Regions from separate parts of the Homo sapiens genome. Here region 1 is linked to region 2. Evidence: promoter capture Hi-C in 16 types of primary human blood cells and fetal thymus (Javierre and others, 2016). All regions are on one chromosome and are shown on one strand. The core of a region is centred on a gene start or on the middle of the fragment in contact, and the rest is flanking DNA. Distances in the headings are between cores, read along the strand shown.

Evidence for each region. The method cuts DNA at HindIII sites, captures the fragments that hold promoters and counts their contacts. A CHiCAGO score of 5 or more calls a contact.
Region 1: a contact is called between a fragment that was not itself captured here and the fragment with the promoter of TRIM23 in region 2, in 1 of 17 cell types (naive CD8 T cells). The highest score is 5.6, in naive CD8 T cells.

The regions. Positions count from the first base shown.
Region 1 is chr5:65,101,817-65,105,365 of GRCh38, forward strand. No RefSeq gene overlaps it. Among named protein-coding and RNA genes, the nearest start is that of CWC27, 330 kb to the left of the region's middle. RefSeq lists enhancers at 673-1,173, 1,174-1,674 and a silencer at 1,156-1,445. The HindIII fragment of the contact is 655 bases long and covers 1,087-1,741 here.
Region 2 is chr5:65,621,702-65,625,603 of GRCh38, forward strand. TRIM23 (tripartite motif containing 23) reads right to left here and starts at 2,632. Exons shown (of 11, transcript NM_001656.4): 1 at 2,493-2,632. The coding sequence starts at 2,573. TRAPPC13 (trafficking protein particle complex subunit 13) reads left to right here and starts at 3,326. Exons shown (of 13, transcript NM_024941.4): 1 at 3,326-3,405. The coding sequence starts at 3,360. SHLD3 (shieldin complex subunit 3) reads left to right here and starts at 3,326. Exons shown (of 2, transcript NM_001365341.2): 1 at 3,326-3,405. RefSeq lists enhancers at 2,302-2,631, 2,762-2,841. The HindIII fragment of the contact is 4,327 bases long and covers 55-3,902 here.

The DNA.
Region 1 (3,549 bases), core at 164-2,663, 520 kb before region 2:
TCCATTTTTTGAAAATGTTTTCCCAGCACATTACAAATTACTTCAGAGTTGGGAAATGCTCCTGCTAGGAAGAGGCTGAGTGCTCGGAGGGTTGGTCTCGAGTCCCGATCAAAACATTGTTTATTTGGGCAACTACATTCTTCTGTCAGTAAGGCCTGGGGAGTTTACTATTAATCCCAAATGTAAACCTCTGTTAGAGTTGCTTACAAAAGGCGACTACTATTTAACTCTTATGTTCACAGCACATCTTGTTAATTCCTCCAATAAAGGAGAACTCAGCTCTTGCGTTTGAAATTTCCAATTTTTGGTTAGGTGACCTTAAACTACTTCACCCCTGATCTCTACTCCCATCTTTATTCTTTCTCCACTTACGGTGGGACTTCCCTAGAAAACACCTGAGGTTTACCAATTTTAGAGGGGACCGAGGGAGAGGCAGGAAATGGTGCCTGGTGAGAGCACGCTCCCTTCCTGTCTCAGAGGGTTGCTGTCTGGACGGGAATTGAAGAAGAATCAGAAATACGTACTGAATTAGGATTGCTAGAGTTAATAAAACAAACGCACACGAATTTTTGTGTGGGTCATACTCATGCTCAAAATTTGTCGTTGTCTATCTGATATTCATATGGAACTCAGTGTGCTGTATTTCAGCTGGCAACCCTTTACTGAATGGATAACCCAGATTTGGACGAAACAGTGGCTGGAAGGTGGAGGCCCTCAAAGTCTCAAAGAGAGAGGTCCTCAAGATTTCTTTTCTAGGGCATCCTCTAGTACTCAGGGTAGAAACACAGAGTCTGTGGTGGCCTTGGGGGCAAAGACGAATGTGTCCTCTAAGGCTGGCCCACCATGGGGAGGAATCCGTGTTGAATGGAGACAAAGAGAGGTGTTAGGAAGCAGCACTGGCGTCCTGCTTCCTCTCCCTATGGGTTCCCTCTGCCTTTCTCCCTCGTCTCTCCCGGAGGGCTCTCTCCCCTCCACACGCCTCCTCCCCAAGAAACCAACATAAGATAATTCTCTTCACTTTAGTTCTCCTGTGCCTGGGTGTAGATGGGAATAAAGCGATGAACCTACGGGGCGAGCGGTGGGCAAAGCTTTCTGTGTATTTGCAGCTCAGCAGTCGAGCGTCCACCCCAAGCTGCATAAACTTGGGTGCCCTCGCCTCCGGCAACCCCGGTGCTTCAGTGCTCCCGACCTTTCTCTGCCGCCCCTCGCCTCGGCGGCCGCCGGGAGCGGCTGTGGGGTGCGCCGGTCGCCCCGGGCCCGAGCGGGAGGAGAGTCCCGCCCCGCCGCGCCCCGCCTCCGGGCGCCCCGACGCTGCCGGCGCGGACGCCATTGCTGCGGCCGCTGTTTGTTATTAAACTGCCCAGAGAAAGGGCTTCGAGTAAAAACACCAACTTTCCAGTCGGGGCGGCGCAGGTCCCCGGGCCCTGGAAAGTTCTGGGACGGCCGAGGTCTCCCCGGACACCCGCACCCACGCCCCCGTCGTGCCCTTTCTGGCTTTTGGCTTCCTCTCCTCGATTTCCCTTTTGTGCGGCCCCGGGCAGCTTCCTCAGGCCCCGCCGCCCCCACCTGGCCGCCCTGGGAGCTGTTCCTCCCCCAGCAGCAGGAGCATCCAGCTCGGGTTTTATTACCTCCCGAGACACTCGAGGAAGCCTCAGGTGGGTTTCCATGTCAACCTTCACTGAAATCCAAACATTTGGCGTTCTCAAAGGCAGTTTAACCTCTGCCACCATTTTTTTTTCAAAGCTTAAAAAAAAACCTAGAACTTTCAAAAGCCGCAGGCTTCTGGGGGTTTCTAGTCAGAGGGTGATAACACATCTTGAGACAGGATATGTATAATTTGTTTGGTTTCACGTTTATCCTCACAAAGCTAAACAGTAATGACTGAGAGCTATGAAAACACTTAGGTAAGGAGAGGGGCTAGAGCAGAGATAAAAGGGATAATTGGAAACAGAGGCGAAGCCTCCAAGTTGCACCTTGTTGAATACTGTCACAGCCGGGCAGGCCGGGGAGCTCATGGCAGGATGCGGCATCTCTTAATTCTGGGCACTCCGCAGCCTCTCCTCTTCCAAGGTTTACTTACGCAAGCTTAGCTGCAATTTTCCACAGATACTCGTCCTGGTTCCGGGCCACCTTCCCCAGTAAGAGACCTCCTGAGGCGGGAGCTGGGGGTTGAACATGTGGTGAACACAGGTTCCAAGCTTTGGAACAGGCCACCTGGAAATGGGAGATAACCTGTTGAGATAAGGGATTTACTGAGGCCAGGGCGCACTGTAGGGAGCGGGGAGCAGAAGGAGTGCGGCTCCACATGTCCAGTCGTGGGATGCAACTGGGAGGTAATATATGAGTCTAGTGAGACCACACGGGGAATACTATGTTCCTCATTGCCTCCCAAGGAAGATGCACATAATGAGCTGGCTGCCTTTCAGAGAAGAGCAATTAGGATGCTTAAGGGGCCACAGGGAGTGACTTAGGGGGAGAGATTAAAAGAATTAAGTATGTATACCTTGGCTGAGCTCAAAGCACAGGGAATGTGGAAACTCTATAAGCATCCTCCGAATATAAACATAAGGAGAAGTGGAATTGTTTCTCATGGTCCCTGAGGGATGGAACTGGAAGTAATAGGGTAGAAGAAAAGAAAACTTAACTACCTGCTAGAGAAAGCTGCTGAGCAGTCCCAGATACCAAAAGTGTCAGAGTCACACCTAATATTTTTAGAAATAAAGTCAACAAAGGAAGACACGACATGATAGGAGAAAAATACGTTTAGATAACAGGGACTGGTCTCACAGGGATGCTTTGAAGGGGTAAGAAAATAACACAAGTCAGTTTCTTTTAGGGAGTATCTGAAACCTTTGAAGGCTGCCTACTAACTAAAGTTTATTACCAGGTGTTTTTGCCTGGCATTCAAAGCCCTCTCCATCTGGCCAAGCTTACCCTCCTAAAATAATCTGTCATCAGTCCCCAACATAAGCACATCTCCTGAGTGCTCCTGGTGTAGTTCCTCCTTTGCGCGTGAAATTCCTCCAACCTGAAATTCCTCTAACCCGAATTTCCTCTCTCCAATCCCAGTGTCCAGCTATTCAAGTCTTACCCACTTTTTAGGGTCTACTTATATCCTACTTCCCCTGGCTACCCCAATCCATAATGCTCCTGCTGTCTTCCTCCTCCTAGAACTCATGTTGGTACCTGTCATACATTACTTGCATTGTTAGCTGATGTATTCTGATCTTATCTGGTCTTACAGATTGTGAGCTTCTTAGAAACTAGAGGGCATGTCCTCTCCCTTCCACTTCCCATCACTTTTTAATTCTCCGTGCTAGCTTTCATAACCATTATGAACCATAATTCACACAATAATAGGATTCTTTCCTGGTTTCTTCCTCTCTCTTGCTACTTCTTAGTTTTCTCTGATCTTCCTTTGGATGTTGGTGCCCCCAGAGTTCCTCCTCTTTTCTCACTCTCCATTCTTCCTGGAAGATCACATCCAATCGGGGGCTGCAGTGACCCTGCCAGTGCTGATGATTCCCAAATCTCTGTCCAGCTTGGCTG
Region 2 (3,902 bases), core at 1,382-3,881:
AAAACCCTAGATAGGAAAAAGCTCTTAATTTTACACTTCAAAAAATGCCAAAAAAGCTTCAAACTTATTACTTGTAAATCAAACTGTAATCAATCAGATATTTTATTTTATGTTGTTATTTATTATTATTATTATTTTTTTTTTGAGAAAGGGTCTCACTCTGTCAGCCAGGCTGGAGAGTAGTGGCCTGAGCATGGTTCACTGCAGCCTTGACCTCCCAAGCTCAGACAATCCTCCTGCCTCAGACTCCCAAGTAGCTGGTACCACAGGCATGTGCCACTACGCCTGGCTAATTTTTTTTTATTATTATTTGTAGAGATAGGATCTCACCATGTTGCCCAGGCTGGTCTCAAACTCTGGGGCTCAAGCAATCCTCCCACCTCAGCCTCCCAAAGTGCTGAGATTAAAGGTGTGAAACTTTCTGTGATACATTTTTAAATGTCAGTTATTTCACAATATCAGATTTTTTATCTTTTATTTTTCAGATGGAGTCTCACTCTGTCACCCAGGCTGGAATGCAGTGGCACAAACTCAGCTCACTGCAACCTCCGCCTCCTGGGTTCAAGTGATTCTCCTACCTCAGCCTCCTGAGTAACTGGGATTAACAGGCCCACACCACAATGCCTGGCTACGTTTTGTATTATTAGTAGAGACGGGGTTTCGCCATGTTGGCCAGGCTAGTCTCAAACTCCTGACCTCAAGTGATCCGCCCACTTTGGCCTCCCAAAGTGCTTCCCAGGCACTTTGTGCTTTACAGGCGTGTGCCACCGCGCCTAGCCACAATATCAGATTTTTATGTTACTGTTTTCTCTAATGATAAAAGCCATGTCATTATCAACTTGTTCACAAGCAAAAGGCCATTTTACACAGTATTAGCATTATATACTTCAACTTTTACCTTCCAATAAATACTTCTTGCTTTCATCTATAGAAATGACAGTGAGATTTTTTTAGTTTATGCTACTATACCTACTACAAATTATGGCATGAAGATTTTGTCAGAAAGGACTATTTCATTGCACAGTTCAGGAATATTTTACATGTTAAGATGAAAATGAACAAGGTGAGCCTCCAATGTATCAAATTCTGTGCTGTAAGAAACTGGAGTTACATCAGGCTTTGGTACACTTTTGAGACTGTAAGGCAAACAGGGTAACAAAAAAATAGATACTGCAATGATACCCATTCCAATTATGAAATAAAACTTAAACTTCAAGTTAATTCACAAACTGCTCTTCAAGTATTCTCTACTTAGCAAAAGCACAATTCAATAAATAAAATCTCAGTCACACAACATGCCTAATAATGAGGGCTCCTTTGCATATCAGATATGCCGTGTACCTGTAGAATAACTTCATTAGTACCTAAAGGTCATCTGAATCAACAACCACCAATATTCACTGATACTAAATTGTGGGAAGAAATGTCTCATTTGCTGTCATATAAAACCAACATTACCTGAATAATCATAGGTGTCTACTTTTCAAGATGTGAAAAAAACTTCATATATTACCTTGATCAGTAATTCATAACCCTGGTTGCACATTAAAATAACTTCTGGTAATTCCTAAAATATACTGATGTCAACCTCATCAGAACTGGAGGAGGAGTGCATCAGTAGTGTACTAAAACTCCTCAGTGATCCTAATATGTAGCCAGGAATGAGAATTATCAATCTCTTAGATTAGAGATGCTCCTGAAGGTTACTCTATAAACCAATGGGATCAGTTCTCCCCTCCATATCTTTCCGTGCACAACAGTGGAAGGGAAAAATGAGTGCCACATATTTCAAATGATTTTTTAGCAAATTGATTCTGGAGCATGTATACATGGTAGAATCTCAAACTTCAAGCATAAGAAAATTCATAAACTCTATCGTTAATGCCCAGCTATGACGATGCTGCAGACTTGTGCAAAGAGTTAATAGACTGTACTACTAACAGGGGAGGGGGCAGCTCACCCAATAACAGATGTCTGATTACAGACGCAGTACAAGAGCGAAAAGTACAGACTTTAAAGCCGGTCAACCCGGGGCTCTGCCACACACTGTTTACCTAAACCTGGGTTTCCTCCCTGTAAAATGGGAATTCACATCTACTTCATAAGTAGATATTAACGAGCTAAAACACCTAACTTAGTACGTAGTTACGATGATGATGACTCAATTTATAATACTAAGCTAATTAATGTCTGTTGAGTTTAACTAAAAGCAGAGGACCTGGAGAAAAGACCGGTCTAGGTCACTGCCACTGGCCCGCAAGCTCCTTTTCACAAATGTCCCGATGATGACATGTCATGAGCAGAAGACCAGGCAATTTCAGGCCATAGGAGAGAAAGGATGCAGAGGACAGGACGAGACTTGTAATGCCAAAAGGGGCCCAGAGGCCGCGCATCCCACCTATCGAAGCCTGGGCCGCGGCGATGCCGCCAGGTCTCCAGGATGAACCGAAGGGAGGCCGATGGTGGAGAATAGAGCACGCAAGGTCCCTCACCTTCACTACAGCTGTCCCCCGGCTGCCCTGCCGGCCACTGTCTACTCCCGCTCCGAGCTTGTTTACAACCAGGGTAGCCATCCTCGCAGGGGAAGCGCCACAGAAACAGCCTTCAGAGTCCTCAACTGAGAGGCGGGGTTGAGCCACCTACCCAGAGGCCTCTGCGCACGCCACCGGCGCACAGGCGCAGTAGGACACTGGGCGCCGCTTAGCCGACTCTTACTCCTCCTCCCCGCAATCGTCGGGTGGTTAGTTGCACAGCCTCGCGCATGGGCACTTTTGTTATTTTTCATTATGTAGTCTGCAGCTGCTGGAGGAAAGACAAGAAAAAAAAAGAAGGGACAAAACGATTAAAGTTTTGGGGTGAAAACTCCAGATCCTTTAATGATTTTTCCTCTCGAATCCAAACCAGCCAGGGCGTGAACTGAGGGCGGTGAGGGGGTACGGGCATCTCCCTGCATGCAACGCGGTTTTTGTATAAACTACAAATCCCAGCATGCCACTCTCTCTCTCTCTCTTTTTTTTTTTTTTTTTTTTTTTTAAAAAAAAAACTCCGGCAACGTTGGCCTTTGGGAGGCCGCGTATTGTTACCTAGGGGTGGTTTCTTTTCCTGCAGTCGCGATGTGTGATTGCAGATGGAAAACAAAGTATTTTATGCCTACGTTTCTAAGATAGAAGAAATGGACTTGTTGAAAAGAAGCCAGTTTGTAAAGGACACAGTAGGAGAATTTAAGGTACCACCACCAGAGAGAGGTTGAGAGTGCGTTTGACTTTTGGTTTTGCCAAACGCGAGGTTTTCCGTTTCCTTCCGGGGCAAGTTGAACCTGTCCAGCCCCCGTAGGCTGTGGGTCAAAAGTGCCGGTCAAAATGGAAGTGAATCCCCCTAAACAGGAGCACCTGCTGGCGCTAAAAGGTAAACTTTTGCGAACCTGATTCCCCCTTTTCTGTTTCCTTGCATTCCCTACTTATCGAAGCCTTTGCCATGTAGGCCTCATCCTTCTTAAACACTCAGTGCTCGCCCTCCTGCTCTGTCCTTTGCCGCCAAGCGGGAGGAAGCGATTTCTCCTGGATGCTTTTTAGGTTTATGGGCCCCTTTCTAGAACGAAATAGATACCTGGTAAATCGTTCTTTCTGATCTGTGCTGCTTCAGTCACGAGATTTTAGCCGCAGAAGCTGACGTCCCGCTCCTACCGTGGAGATCTCTGTGAATTACAGCGGGCATCCAAAGTGCTTTTTCCTTCTGTCTCTTGTTTCTTCCTGTGGCACTGACGAAGTTAATCAGGCTTCAGCTTCCCCTGTAAAATTAGTATTGCATGACAGTAGTGCAGAGAATTTAGCAATACATAGTAATACAACATATAACTTAGATTTATTCAAAACAAACTGCAGTTTACTTCAAATCACTGTGTA